2 separate regions of the Homo sapiens genome follow, and region 2 is linked to region 1. The links are contacts of gene promoters, found by promoter capture Hi-C in blood cells and fetal thymus (Javierre and others, 2016). All regions are on one chromosome and are shown on one strand. Each heading gives the region's core, a stretch centred on a gene start or on the middle of the fragment in contact. The rest is flanking DNA. Distances are from core to core; before and after follow the strand shown.

What was found. Contacts are between HindIII fragments. The CHiCAGO score rates a contact against its expected background, and 5 or more counts as called.
Region 2: a contact is called between the fragment with the promoter of TBC1D13 here and the fragment with the promoter of SPOUT1 in region 1, in 6 of 17 cell types (endothelial precursors, naive CD8 T cells, neutrophils and 3 more). The highest score is 8.7, in endothelial precursors.

The regions. Positions count from the first base shown.
Region 1 is chr9:128,827,709-128,835,328 of GRCh38, forward strand. SPOUT1 (SPOUT domain containing methyltransferase 1) reads right to left here and starts at 2,086. Exons shown (of 12, transcript NM_016390.4): 1 at 2,037-2,086; 2 at 1,402-1,447; 3 at 1,027-1,152. The coding sequence starts at 2,072. It overlaps KYAT1-SPOUT1 (KYAT1-SPOUT1 readthrough), which reads right to left. Exons shown (of 25, transcript NR_182311.1): 11 at 7,615-7,620; 12 at 6,032-6,118; 13 at 5,519-5,935; 14 at 2,037-2,297; 15 at 1,402-1,447; 16 at 1,027-1,152. KYAT1 (kynurenine aminotransferase 1) reads right to left here. Exons shown (of 13, transcript NM_004059.5): 11 at 7,615-7,620; 12 at 6,032-6,118; 13 at 5,234-5,935. The coding sequence ends at 5,876. RefSeq lists enhancers at 550-1,480, 2,278-2,337 and silencers at 1,818-1,997, 2,814-3,037. The HindIII fragment of the contact is 15,703 bases long and covers 322-7,620 here.
Region 2 is chr9:128,783,522-128,791,141 of GRCh38, forward strand. TBC1D13 (TBC1 domain family member 13) reads left to right here and starts at 3,732. Exons shown (of 12, transcript NM_018201.5): 1 at 3,732-3,855; 2 at 4,813-4,886; 3 at 7,214-7,254. The coding sequence starts at 3,833. RefSeq lists an enhancer at 29-323, a cis regulatory region at 33-367 and a silencer at 3,380-3,869. The HindIII fragment of the contact is 6,792 bases long and covers 1-5,123 here.

The DNA.
Region 1 (7,620 bases), core at 836-3,335:
GTCAGGAGTTCAAGACCAGCCTGGCCAACATGGCGAAACCCCGTCTCTACTAAAAATACAAAAATTAGCTGGGCATGGTGGCGCATGCCTGTAATCCCAGCTACTCCGGAGGCTGGGGCAGGAGAATCGATTGAACTGGGAAGTGGAGATTGCAGTGAGCGGAGATCGAGCCACTGCACTCCAGCCTGGGCAACAGAGCGAGACTGTGTCTCAAAAACAAACAAAAAAGCCCAAGAAGCACATAGATAACATGGTTTCACTGTTGTAACATTGTATCTGTACTTTGCTACACATGGATAAGTAGCTATAATTGTTTGGACAAGCTTTTGCTACAATGTTTGCTGGGATTGTTCCTGTCTTCTTTGTAGTTTTCTTTCATTTTTATTATGAAATCAAAATAATTGAAAAATGAAATTAAAGCACACAGAAAATGCTCAATAAAAAAGTCAAAAAATCAGGAAGATCATGAAGTTCTAGAGGTCTAAGTTAAGAGATATGAGGCTTGGGCCGGGCACGGTGGCTCATGCCTGTAATCCCAGCACTTTGGGAGGCTGAAGTGGGCAGATCACCTGAGGTCAGGAGTTCGAGACCGGCCTCCCCAACATGGTGCAACCACGTCTCTACTAAAAATACGAAAATTAGCCAGGTGTGGTGGCACACTTCTGTAATCCCAACTACTCGGGGGGCCGAGGGAGGAAAATTGCTTGAACTTGGGCAGTGGAGGTTGCAGTGAGCAGAGATGGCGCCGTTGCACTCCAGCCTGGGCAACAGAGCAAGACTCCATCTCAAAAAAAAAAAAAAAGAGAGATAAGGCTTGCCTTCCATAGGCTTGAAATTTACCTAAGCAGGAGGTCAGAACTCAGTTTGCTGGCTCCCTCCCTTCTCTGGGCCTCAGTTTCTCCATCAGGACAAGATGTTTGGACCTACTGGTCTGTAAAGGCCCTTTCAGATAAGACATCTCTGCTCTGCCTGCAGGACAACTACCGTGGGCCACAACCTGTGGCCCTCCCCAAGACCCCAGCTCACCGCGGTCCTCCTTCTCTGCCGCTGCCTCCTCCTCTTCCAGGCGCTTTGCCTGTTCCTCCTGTGCCCGCTGCCGCTCCAGTTTTTTCATCAGCTTGAGATCCTTCCATTTTTTTTTCTCCTCTTTCTCTGGATAAAAGAACATCCTAATTGGCCAAGGAGACAGTTCCCACTCATTGGGTCAGCCTGGACTCTGGAGAGCTGCTGGGTGAGCAGCCAGAGGGCAGCAAGGGAGCCTCCCCAGGGCTCCCGGCCCCTGCCTCCCCACTTTGTGTGCTGCAGGACCCAGAGGGAACAAAGTTGGTGTCTTTCTCCAGGGTTTGACTGAGCACTGGTGGAGTGGCCTATGGGAAGATACTCTTACCCACCCTTACTTACTCTGTTGCTTCCATTTTCGCCACTCAATCCTTTGGCCGTGTTCACCCTGGAGAAGGAGTGGTAGGAGGATTATGAGTGTGAGGCTGATGGTCACACCTGGAGGGGGTCCGTTTGCTGCACCATAGCCAGCCCCTCCACACGGGGCGGCAAGGAAGCCAAGGAACCTCTGCGAACTGCTGCCCCAGAAAGCGGCAGGAGGGCAGGGACCCGCTGTATCCCCAGCGCCTGGGACCCAGCCTGGCACACAGAAAGCACTCAAGAAACTGTCGAATGAGTTCCCACAAAACAGAAGAGAAAACTGAGGCTCAGGGTACAGCACTGCCCACAGTCGCCCTGGAAGTCAGAAAAGGGCTCCAGAAGCCACGAAAGGGCTCCGGATTCAGCATCCGGAGGCGAGCAGGGTCCCGCCTCCGTAATCCAGCGGGGGCCAGGGAGCCGCAGGGGGTTCCGGAGAGGACACGGGCGCTGTTCCCATCCTGCTGAGGCTCACGCGGCACCTTCGGGGGCTTCCGGCCTGGGATCAGCGGGAAGCAGGCAGCAGGAGGCGCGGCCCGGCCCCGGCGAAGGCCCCCACGCCACTGGTTCTCACGCCTCCACCATGCTGCCCTGCACGGGGTCCCGCCGCCCGCACTTACCGGGCCGCACGGCCGCTTCCTGCCGCGCTCCGCCATGTTCCGCACACACCGTCGGTCCCGCCTCTGCCAATGAGACTCGCCTCTTCCGGCCACACCTCCATTAAGCTGTCCAATCGGAGAGCCAATATCGCCCAGGGGCGTGGCCTGGGCGCCCGACGGGCTGCAGGGGTACGCGGGCTGGAGTAGGTTGGGCAGAGTAGGTGTCCAAATAGGCGGCATCGCGGGTACTGTGCTGAATTTTGGATGGCTCGGAGCCCCCCTCTGAGTTGGGACAAATACAACACTCAGACCTCTGAGTAGTTCACTTGTTTAAAAATAATTTTTTTTGAGACAGGGTCTCGCTATGTTGCCGAGGCTGGAGTGCAGTGGAGCAATTCTAGCTCACTGCAGGCTTGAGCTCCTGGGCTCAAGGGATCCTCCCACCTTAGCCTCCCGAGTAGCTGGAACCACAGGTGCGCAGCACCACGCCTAGCTCCTGGAAGGCTTTATACATGGGGACCCTGGGGCCTTGAGCTGTAGTGTGATTCAGAGCTGAAAATGAGATAATTTACTCCAGGTTTCTTATAGATTCGTTCACGTACTCTTTCTTTTTTTTGAGACAGAGTCTCGATTCATTGCCCAGGCTGGAGTGCAATGGCGCGATCTCGGCTCACTGCAACCTCCACCTCCTGGGTTCAAGCAATTCTCCTGCCTCAGCCTTTCAAGAAGCTGGGATTACAGGAGCGTGCCACCATGCCCAGCAAATTTTTTTGTGTGTGTTTTTAGTAGAGATGGTGTTGATGTTGGCCCCGTGTTGGCCAGCCTGGTTGAACTCCTGACCATAAGTGATCCTCCAGCCTCGGCCTCCCAAAGGGCTGGGATTACAGGCGTGACCCACTGCACCCGGCCTTTTTTTTTTTTTTTTTTTTTTTTTTTTTTTTTTTTTGAGACAGAGTTTCGCTTTTCTTGCCCAGGCTGGAGTGCAATGGCTCGATCTCAGCTCACAGGAACCTCCAACTCCTGGGTTCAAGCGATTCTCCTGCCTTAGCCTCCCGAGTAGCTGGGATTACAGGCATGCACCACCACGCCTGGCTGATTTTGTATTTTTAGTAGAGATGGAGTTTCTCTATGTTGGTCAGGCTGGTCTCGAACTCTTGACCTCAGGTGATCCGCCCACCTCGGCTTCCCAAAATGCTGGGATTACAGGCATGAGCCACCACGCCCGGCCTCGTTCTCTTTTAATTAACAGACTATATTAGTTGGGACTACAAGTGTGAGCCACCATGCCCGACTAATTTTTTTTTTTCTTTTTGTACAGATAGTGTCTCACTATGTTGCCAGGGCTGGTCTCAGACTCCAGGGTTCAAGCAATCCTCCCAACTTGGCTTCCCAAAGGGCTGAGATTATAGACTTGAGCCATTAATGCCTTTTATTTTTTGAGATCTAGTCTCACTCTGTTGCTCAGGCTGAAGTGCAGTGGCATGATCTCGGCTCACTGCAACCTCTGCCTCCCAGGTTCAAGCAATTCTCCTGCCTCAAGCTCCCAAGTAGCTGGGATTACAGGCGCCTGCCACCAAGCCCGGCTAATTTTTGTATTTTTAGTAGAGACGGGATTCTCCATGTTGGTCAGGTTGGTCTTGAACTCCCGACCTCAGGTGATCCACCCGCCTCGGCCTCCCAAAGTGCTGGAATTACAGGTGTCAGCCACCGTGCCCGGTCTCGAACTTAGATTTTTTTTTTTTTGAGACAGTCTCGCTCTGCTCTGTCGCCCAGGCTAGAGTGCAGTGGCGTGATCTCCGCTCACTGCAAGCTCCGCCTCCTGGGTTCATGCCATTCTCCTGCCTCAGCTTCCCGAGTAGCTGGGACTACAGGTGCCCGCCACTGCACCCGGCTAATTTTTTATATTTTTAGTAGAGACAGGGTTTCACCGTGTTAGCCAGGATGGTCTCGATCTCCTGACCTCGTGATCCACCCGCCTCGGCCTCCCAAAGTGCCGGGATTACAGGTGTGAGCCACCGTGCCTGGTCTCGAACTTAGATCTTATACTAAATTTGTTGTGATTTTTGACAGGTTTATTTTGTAGGCATGACTGATTAAGACATTGGCCATTTGAAAAAACAAACACAAAAATCCCCCCAAAACAACAATAACAAACAGACATGGACCATGTGATTGGGCTCAAAGTCTAGTCCCTCACACCTCCATGGAGGCAGAGATGGAGGGGGCCCGATGGGCTAAAAGTTCTGACCCCGTAATCGTACAGTGCAGAGGGATTCCATGTGACTAACAAGACATGCCTATCTTCCAGAAACTCCAAGGATTTTAGGAATTCTTTACTAAGGACCAGGGGCAAACACCAAATATGTATTTTATTATATGATATATTCCTATCAGCTCCCCCAGTTAAACATATGATATGAGCCAAACCCATGCGCTTGCTATGCAAATGCAACTTCAAGACCAGGCCCCTAACACCACCTTCCAAAGAAATTCAGGAGCTACTATTGCTATCCAGTGAGACTCAATCGGGGCCAGCTAGAAGGCCTGGGCACACCACTTCACCTCACCTCCAGAGTGCTTTCCTCTCTTGTGAACTGGAGATAACTCAGGTCTCAGTCTCAGAGGGTTGTGTAAGATGATGTGCGTCTGAGTGCCTCGCAGGTAGGGCTTGCACGATCAACATTCAGTCCTCCTCCTGAGAATTATTTAAGTCCCTGGTCCTCCTGGCCCCCACTGTGCTGTTCTCTCACCCCTGTGGGAATGTCCATGTCTTCCTTGTCACGAACCCCAATCCTCTCCACACACACACACACACACAAACACATATGACACCCCCACCCCAGCCACCACACCCAGCACCAATAACTGCTACCATCAGATTAATATGAGAGGCCAGCTATGGTGGCTCACGTCTGTAATCCCAGCACTTTGGGAGGCCGAGGCGAGCAGATGACCTGAGGTCAGGAGTTTGAGTCCAGCCCAGCCAACATGGTGAAACCCCATCTCTACAAAAACACAAAAATTAGCCGGGCGTGGTGGCAGGTGCCTGTAGTCCCAGCTACTCAGGAGGCTGAGGCAGGAGAATTGCTTGAACCCAGGAGGTGGAGGTTGCAATGAGCCAAGATCATGCCACTGCACTCCAGCCTGGGGGACAGAGCGAGACTCTGTTTCAAAAACAACAACAACAACAACAACAACAACAACAACAACAACAAAGATTAATAGTGAGGAATTCATTTGAGGGCCTTGGGTGCTAGGCCTGGTTGTGCCACTATGTGACTACAGTAACCATTTGTACAAAGTTGTGGGGGTGTCTGAGGTTCTTCTGGGCATTCTTCACAAGTTAGATCAGCCATCAGCATGAGTGTGAAGCAGAGAGAAGCCGTCAATAAGGATCTTAATAACTTAAACATTTTATTATGGACGAAAAGGAGAGGCTTGAGGACTCAAGCCTAAAGGCAACTCCCCAAGGCCAAGATGAGCCAGGGAAGGTGAGGTTATACCTGAGCCTTAGCAGGGGCCATGCAGAGCTGGGATGTGATCGGTACATGGTGGAAGTCTACCGTCCGTCTCAGCCAAGCCTGGAGAGACCAGAAGCAACACAAGACCCTACAAACCCACCTATGGAGGGGCAGGGAGAGGCCCAGGTCAGGCCACCCTCACCTTTCAGACAGGAGGCACTTGGTTCTCTAAGATGAAGAAGGGCGGCTCCCACCCAGAACATTCTGTGTCACGGAGAAGAGGTTTCCCAATAGCATCTTCCCCAACCTAGAAATGTCTGAAACCTGGACAAAGACAGACACTCAAAGAGGATCTCTGCGGGCATGTGGGGATGTCAGGGCCAAGGCGTGACTTCAGGGCTAGAGTTCCACCTTCCACTTCCGCAGCTTCTCGTCCATGGCCTGGAGCGTGGCTTCATCCTGCGCCAGCACAGATTAGTCCTACACTCTCCCCATGTGCCCAGCCGGCCTTGGGAAGCTCTGTGAGGTCTTTCCTCCCCCAGCCCTGCCCTTTACCTTCACAAAACAGAAGCGGATATAGTGGTCAAAGTGCTTCTGATGTGGCACACTATAGAAGATGGAGACAGGGATGGCCACCAAGCCCTGGGGAGGAGGAAGGACATGTCTCAACACGGCCTCGTGGCCCAGCAGGCCTTGGCTCCGGAGGGGACAGAGAGGTTCCCACGACCAGGCGGGGAAGGAGAGTTAGCTCCAATCCAGCACCTAGAGCTGCATCAAAGTCAGAGGAACAAGGCCAGGTGCGGTGGCTCACGCCTATAATCCCAGCACTTTGGGAGGCTGAGACGGGTGGATCACCTGAGGTCAGGAGTTCAAGACCAGCCTGGCCAACATGGCTAAACCCCGTCTCTACCAAAAATACAAAAATTGGCCGGGTGTGGTGGCGCATGCCTGTAATCCCAGCTACTTGGGAGGCTGAGGCAGGAGAATTGCTTGAACCCGGGGGTGGAGGTTGCAGTGAGCCAGATTGCGCCACTTCACCGCAGCCTGGGCGAAAGAGAGAAAATCCATCCAAAACAAAAACAAACACAAAGTCAGAAGAAAAGAATCCCAGAACATCATTCCAAGTCCCTCCCTGGGTATAGAGGGCAGAGGGAGGCTGACAGAGGGAGGATCATGGAGCAGGTCAGGGCAGAGCCAGAGAAGAACAAAGCCTTAGAGTCACAGATCAAACCTGGATGAACTCAAGAGTTAATGGGCCAACTCCTCACTGTACAGATGGGAAGATGGAGATCCAAAGAGGCAGGAAATCCTGCCAGCCCACACAGCATCTCTGTGCAAGTTAGAAACAGGTTCCTCAGGCCAGGCACGGTGGCTCACGCCTGTAATCCCAGCACTTTGGGAGGCCAAGGGGAGTGGATCATCTGAGGTCAGGAGTTGGAGACTAGCCTGACCAACATGGTGAAACCCCGTCTCTACTAAAAATACAAAAATTAGCCAGGCGTGGTTGTACATGCCTGTAATCCCAGTTACCCAACTACTCAGGAGGCTAAGGGAGGAGAATCGCTTGAACCCTGGAGGTGGAGGTTGCAGTGTGCTGAGATTGCGCCACTGCACTCCCACCTAGGCGACAGAGTGAGACTCTGTCTCAAAAAAAAAAAAAAAAAAAAAAAGGCCAGGAGCAGTGGCTCACGCCTGTAATCCCAGCACTTTGGGAGGCCGAGGCAGGTGGATTACAAGGTCAGGAGATCAAGACCAACCTGGCTAACATGGTGAAACCCCGTCTCTACCAAAAATACAAAAAAAATTAGCCGGGCAAAAAAAAGTAGCCTGTGGTCCCAGCTACTCGGGAGGCTGAGGCAGGAGAATGGCGTGAACCTGGGGGGCAGAGCTTGCAGTGAGCCAAGATCGCGCCACTGCACTCCAGCCTGGGCAAGAGTGAGACTCCATCTCAACCAAAAAAAAAAAAGAAAGAAAAAAAGAAACAGCCTCCTCATTCTCTGAAGTGGATACAACCCTGCCCCAAGGTTGACGGCAGAGGCTGGACTAAGATCTAGCCCAGGAGCCTCTTGCCTGGGCACCCTTGAGCAGCACACAACCTGTGAAACCATACATGGCTGCCTGGCAGAGGCCCAGCCCACCTTGTT
Region 2 (7,620 bases), core at 2,482-4,981, 43 kb before region 1:
TGCCCAGGCTGGTCTGGAATTCCTGCCTCAAGCAATCCTCCTGCCTTGGCCTCCCAGAGTGCTGCGATTACAAGCAAGAGCCACTGCACCTGGCCCTGTCCATGCTTTCAATGCCTAGGAATGGAAGTGCTGAGTCATAGGGTAATTCTATGTTTAGCTTTTTGAGGAACTGTCATACTATTTTCCATAGCAGCTGCACCATTTTACATTCCCTCCAGCACATGTGTGGGTTCCTATCTCTCCACATCCTTGTCAGCAATTATAACTGTCTCTTTTTTTTTTTTTTTCTTTTTTTTTTAAGACAGGGTCTCACTCTGTTGCCTAGCCTGGAGTGCAGTGGCATGATCTCGGCTCACTGCAATCTCTGCACTCCAGCCTGGGGACAGAACAAGACCTCATCCTGGGGAGGGGGGGAAAAATGTGGTGGTGGGGATTTAAAAATGTACAATAGGCCAGGCGTGGAGCCTTAAGCCTGTAATCTCTGCACTTTGGGAGGCCGAGGACAACAGATCACGAGGTCAGGAGATCAAGACCATCCTGGCTAACATCGTGAAACCCCGTCTGTACTAAAAATACAAAAACTAGCCGGGTGTGGTAGCAGGCACCTGTAATCCCAGCTACTTAGGAGGCTGAGGCAGGAGAAGCACTTTAACCCGGGAGGCGGAGGTTGCAGTGAGCCGAGATTGCGCCACTGCACTCTAGCCTGGTGACAGAGTAAGACTCCGTATCAAAAAAAAAAAAAAAAAAAGTACAATAGGCTTGGCATGGTGATGCACGCCTGTAATCCCAACACTTTGGGAGCCCGAGGTGGGTAGATCACCTGATGTCAGGAGTTCGAGACCAGCCTGGCCAACATGGTGAAACCCCGTCTCTGCTAAAATACAAAAATTAGCCAGGTGTGGTGGTGGGCGCCTGTAATCTCAGCTACTTGGGAGGCTGAGGCAGGATAATTGCTGGAGGCAGAGGTTGCTGTGAGCCAAGATTGCGCCATTGCACTCCAGCCCAGCCAAGAACAGAGAGACTGTCTCAAAAAAAAAAAAAAAAAAAAAGTACAATAAAGAACGGGCAATAGGGACAGGCATGGTGGCTCATGACTGTCATCTCAGCACTTTGGGAGGCAAAGGTGGGCAGATCGCCTGAGGTCAGGAGTTCAAGACCAGCCTGGCCAACATGGAGAAACCCGTCTCTACTAAAACTACAAAAATTAGCCAGGCATACTGGCGCGCGCCTATAATCCCAGCTACTTGGGAGGCTGAGGTAGGAGAATTGCTTGAACTCAGGAGGCGGAGGTTGTGGTGAGTGGAGATTGCACCACTGCACTCCAGCCTGGGCAACAGAGCCAGACTCCATCTCAAAAAAAAAAAAAAATTAGAAGGCCAGGTGCTGCCAGGCATGGTATCTCACGCCTGTAATCCCAGGATTTTGGGAGGCCGAGGAGGGAGAATAACCTGAGGTCAGGAGTTTGAGGCCAGCCTGGCCAACATGATGAAAACCCGTCTCTACTAAAAATACAAAATTTTTTTTAAATCAAAAAATATAAAAATTAGCCAGGCAGGGTGGCATGAACCTTTAATCCTAGCTACTCGGGAGGCTGAGGCAGAAGAATCGCTTGAACCCGGGAGGCAGAGGTTGCCGTGAGCTGGAGATCACCCCATTGCACTCCAGCCTCGGCAACAAGAGTGAGATTCCGTCTCAAGAAAAAAAAAAAAGAAGGCCAGGCATGGTAGCTCATGCCTGTAATCCCAGCACTTTGGGAGGCCTGAGGTGGGCAGACACTTGAGGTCAGGAGTTTGAGACCAGCCTGGCCAACATGATGAAACCCTATCTCTACCTCAAAATACAAAAATCAGCTGGGCATGGTGGCATGCGCCTGTAGTCCCAGCTACTCAGTAGGCAGAGGTTGCAGTGAACTGAGATTGCGCCACTGCACTCCAGCCTGGGGTGACAGAGTGAGACCATGTCTCAAAAAAAAGAAAGAAGAGTATATATGCATAGCAAACGTGTGAAGAGATGCTCAACATCATATGTCTTTAGGGAAATGCATGTTAAAGCAGGAGATACCACTTCACATCTACTAGAATGTCTAAGATTAAAAAGACTGACCACATCAAGTATTGGTGAGGACGTGGTACAACAGCAACTCTCATATACTGCTGGGGTAGGTGTTAAATAATACAACCATTTTGGAAAATATTTAAGCACTTTCTTTTCTTTTTCTTTTTCTTTTTTTTTTTTTGAGATAGAGTGTCGCTCTTTCGCCCAGGCTGGAGTGCAGTCGTGCAATCTCCACTCACTGCAAGCTCTGCCTCCCAGGTTCATGCCATTCTCCTGCCTCAGCCTCCCGAGTAGCTGGGACTACAGGCACCCACCACCACGCCCGGCTAATTTTTTTCTTTGTATTTTTTAGTAGAGATGGGGTTTCACCGTGTTAGACAGGATGGTCTCGATCTCCTGACCTCATGATCCGCCCTCCTTGGCCTCCCAAAGTGCTGGGATTACAGGCGTGAGCCACCGCGCCTGGCTAGCTGTTTCTTTCTTTTTTTTTTTTTCTCAAGAAAAAGGTGTTAAATAATACAACCATTTCGGAAAATCTTTAAGCAGTTTCTTTTCTTTTCTTTTCTTTTTTTTTTTTTTTTGACAGGGTCTTGCGTTTTTGCCCAGGTTGGAGTGCGGTGGCGCTATTGGAGTGCGGTGGCACTATCTCGGCTCACTGCAAGCTCCGCCTCCCGGGTTCAAGCAATTCTCCTGCCTCAGCTTCCTGAGTAGCTGGGATTACAGTTGTGCGTCACCACACCCGGCTAATTTTTGTATTTTTAGTAGAGACGAGGTTTCACCATGTTGGTTAGGCTGTTCTCAAATTCCTGACCTGGTGATCTGCCCGCTTCAGCCTCCCAAAGTGCTGGGATTACAGGCGTGAGCCACCACGCCCGGCCTACTCAACTAATTTTTACATCTTTTGTAAAGAAGGTAATCTCGAGGAGCTGGGATTACAGGCGCCTGCCACCACGCCCGGCTAATTTTTGCATTTTTGGTAGAGACGGGGTTTCACCGTGTTGGCCAGAGTGGTCTCCAACTCCTGACCTCAAGTGGTCTGCCTGCCTCGTCCTCCCAAAGCACTGGAATTTACAGGGATGAGCCACCGCGCCCGGTCCAGCCTATTTTTCTTAAGATATCATTTGTGTTTTTTTCTTTCTTCCTAACTTACATTTTATAGGGTTTGCTGGTATAGTTTTTATAAAAAAAAAAAAAGTTGGGCCGCGCACGGCGGTTCATGCGAGTCCCTGCTATACAGGCCTTGAGGATTCTGCAGAGACCAAGATAAGCTGGGGGGCCTGAACAGTTTAGCAGGGGAGGCCGAGACTCCTGTAACAATCATGCAGTAGTTAATTACAGGGGGGTGAGTGCAGGGAAGACGACAGGGTGACAGGTATATTGCGTAAGTAGACACTGAGGCCCAGGGAAGCGCAAGGAATAGTCCAGAGACACACAGTCTGCGCTGTCACCGGCGGGTTCTCAAATTTGGCCCGCAGGGTCGGCGGCGCTGGGGCTCCCGGCCCGCGATTGCCACGCCCACCAGACCCGAGGTTGCCCCGCTCAACCCGGCCGGCCGTAGCCGCCAGTACCGTGTGGAAGCGTGAGAGTCGAGGGGTGGCACGTGACTGGCGGGGCGGGGCGGGGCTGAGGCGGTGGAACGCGCAGGCTAGTGGCTGTGTTTCCCGCCGGAGGCTTTTGCGCAGAGCCCCGCGTCCCTGGGGGGCGGCGGCGGCGGCGGCAGCGCAGGCGGCAGAGGCGCAGGCGGCGGAGGCGGCTGGGGGGTCCGGAAGTCAACACCATGTCAAGTCTGCACAAGAGCCGGTAAGGGGCCATGGGGCCTGACCCGGCTGGGCCACTCCTGGCCAGGCTGCCCCTTCTGCCCCTCAGAAGGGGGAAGCGCGGGTGTGGCCAGGAATCGGCAGACCCCCTCGGCAGAGGGTCTCGAGCGTCCACCTTCTAACCTCATTGCCTGTGGGCTGCAGGAACGACGGAGGGGCGGCCCTTCTCCTGCCCCTGATGTCACTGCTTCTGCCTCCCTCATCCTGGACCCCTGGTGTCCCCCTTCCCCTGAGTCTTCCTCATCCAGACCCCCATGCCCCGCCCCCGTGCCTTTCCCCCTTTTGATCCCCCTGCTCCCGTACTCTCTCCAAGTGCACCCTGTCCCCCGTGCCTTTTTCTTACTAGGATTGCTAGAGAACTTGCATTCTCCAGTCTGGCCCCTCCCCCAGGCCAGATCCTGCAGCATTGGCTGAATTTTGCTCACTCTTCAGTTTTCCTTCAGGACGTGTTTTTTAAACCCTTTGTCCTTGCCTTCTGGCAGGCCCAGAGGTCTTGTAATGGTTATATTTGTGAGCATGGTCCATTGTCTGCATATCAAATTACTCCTGGTTCCTGAGGTCCAAGGAGTTCAGTTGGTGGCTGTGCGTGGACCCGGCCTGGCCGGCAGGAAGTGCCCAGTAAATGTCAGCTCACTAAGTATTAGAATGTTGGAATATGTCTAATTTTATGGTCCTCATTTGGGAACTTCTAGACAAGAATATCTCTCAAGTTTCTTCCCTGGCATTCTGTGTTTCTGGTTGTAGAGGAAGAAGTGAAATATAGTTTTGTTGTTCTCCAAAGCTGTCTTTGGTGAGGACCTTGACTAAGCTGTGTGATTTTTATGTCCTAAAGGGGAGAGAGGCACAGGTTGGAAACTGGCAGTGTGAGGGAGCTGAGGGCTGTGGGTCTCACTGAGCCGATATCAGCATGCTTCATTTGCCGCCCTATCTCCCCTTCCAGAATTGCAGATTTCCAGGATGTCCTGAAGGAGCCCTCAATTGCATTGGAAAAGCTGCGGGAACTCAGCTTTAGTGGTAAGAAGCCATTCTGTATTTTCACGGTTTCCCTACAGCAGCCCTGTGGCTAGAATACAGGGGGAGGCCACACCTGGTCAGCTCTGGGGCCCAGCTGCTGGGGGCTGGGGCCTTGGAAGGAAATTACACACAGACTCTTGGGGCCTTTTCCAGATTCTGTAGAGCTGAACAGGCAGTGACTGCCTTGAGCTTGGAGGGGTTTCCCAGAGGGGCAGTGGCCACACTTAGCATGCCCTAAGCTTTCCTAAGCTTTCCGCAGGAGGTGCCAGATTCCTGAGAGTAACAGGACAGGACTGAAGCCTGGAGAATGAGAGTTGGGACCTTTTGAGCCCAGGACAGTCTTTCCTCATTCCTTAGCTAGCTTCCTGTGTTGGTGAGTTTGGTTAACTGCAGGGTTGTTCCTTGTTCTCTCCCTGGCTTGGGGTCTAAGCTGCCTGAACTAAACCTTGGCTAGTGGTAAAATGGGTAGCCTTGGGACACTGACTTTAAGGAGCTGATCCTGCTGTGTTAGACTTTGCCCCAATGAGCACAAAGATAACTCTCTTTTTGCCTGTTTTAAAAAATATCCCAACGTGTTCTGCATAGCTTCTTGTCACTTTTTTGCCCTTGTAACTTTGCCAGCAAGAACTTCTGGCCGGGTGCCGTGGCTCATGCCTGTAATCCCAACATTTTGGGAGGCCAAGGCAGGTGGATCACCTGAGGTCAGGAGTTCGAGAACAGCCTGGCCAACATGGTGAAACCTAGTCTCTACTAAAAATATAAAAAAGTAGCTGGGCTTGGTGGCACTTGCCTGTAATCCCAGCTACTCGGGAGGCTGAGGCAGGAAAATCACTTGAACCTGGGAATTGCAGTGAGCCGAGATTGCGCCATTGCACTCCAGCCTGGGCGACAAGAGTGAAGCTCCATCTCAAAAAAAAAAAAAAAAAAAAGAACTTCTTATATTGTCCCTGTCATCCTCATATAGATTCTGAAGTGGAGGTATTCACTCATGTTCATGGTACCAGGGATACTACAGCAGCAACTGCGGTAGTGAGCTTCCTGATCTTATTGCAGGATAACTTTGTCTTTCTGTTTAGGAGTGAAATATAGGCCCCAAAGGAGAGGCAGTCAGTGTTAGTAGTTAAGAGTTTTACAGATAAGTTTCCTTCTTACGACAATTACGTTAATCTTCCCTACTTACTGGGGTAATAATGAAGATTAAATGAAATAATATCTGTAAAGCACAAAATACTTAGCATTCGTAGCTTAGTTTATATTCCACAAATATGTATGGAATATCTTCTATGTGCAGTGCTCTGTGCTATGCACTGGGAATAATAGATGTGGTTTTTGTCCTTCTGGGGCTTACCCAGTAGTAGGGGTTACAGACGTTAAGAAAATACACCATATATATATATATATATATAATAATTCCACTTATGACAGATGCTATGAAATAGTCACAGAGCCATTATTGCTTATAACAGGGGGAACTGACCTGAATTAGGATGACATGGTGGTGGTAAAGGCTGCTCCTGAGGAAGGAATATCAAGGATGAGAAGGTGTTATCCTCAAAAGAACATTTCAGGCCGGGCATGGTGGCTCACACCTGTAATCTCAGCACTTTGGGAGGCTGAGGCAGGTGGATCACCTGAGGTCAGGAGTTCGAGACCAGCCTGGCCAATATGGTGAAACCCTGTCTCTACTAAAAATACAAAAATTAGCCAGGAGTGGTGGCACACATCTGTAATCCCAGCTACTTGCAAGGCTGAGGCAGAAGAATTAGTTAAACCGGGGAGGCGGAGGTTGCAGTGAGCAGAAATCACGCCATTGCACTCCAGCCTGGGCAACAGAGCAAGACTTTGTCTCCAAAAAAAAAAAAAAAAAAATTAGCATCCAGTCTAGGCTGGGTATGGTGGCTCACGCCTGTAATCCTAACAGTTTGGGAGGCCGAAGTGGGGGGATCACCTGAGGTCAGGAGTTCAAGCCCAGCCTAGCCAACATGGTGAAACCTTGTCTCTACTAAAAATACAAAAATTAGCTGAGCACAGTGGCGCGTGCCTGTAATCCCAGCTACCTGGGAGGCTGAGGCTGGAGAATCGCTGGAACTCGGGAGGCGGAGGCTGCAGTGAGCCGAGATTGCGCCACTTCACTCCAGCCTAGGTGTTAGAGGGAGACTCCATCTCAAAAAAAAGAAACCATCCAATCTAGTCATCTTTCTTGGGGAAATGATTCTTGAAGAAGTACTTCTTGCCCACTCTACTCCCCGCCAGTTGGCTCCACGGTGAAGGGCTGGGGGTTCTGGGACTCTGGCCTGGGGCATGACCTTTGCCTGCTGTGTCCACAGGCATCCCCTGTGAGGGCGGACTGCGGTGCCTCTGCTGGAAGGTGGGTGTGCCTGGGGTGGGGCTTCTGCTCTGCTGAGAGTCCCTGGGTTTTCCTGCATGGGCTGCCCCTACCCCTGGCTTCTTCCTCCTGTTCTGCACCTTTCCTTGCTTGTCTGAGGGAGCTTTTCTGGGAAGTCCTGGGTTTTCTGTTCCTCTTGGTGTCTTCTCTGGGATCCCCTTGGGGATGGGACACTTTGTAATGCCAACAATGAAGACCTCTGCTTCCTGGTCCGTGAAGTACAGTGAAAGTCATGCTTATTGGGACAAAACAAAGGCTGTGCTTTGCCCAAAGCTCCCAGCTCAGGTGGCCATGGAAGCCCAGTGTCCTGGTTTCCAGCCCTTTAGAGCACAGGGTCTGATGATCATG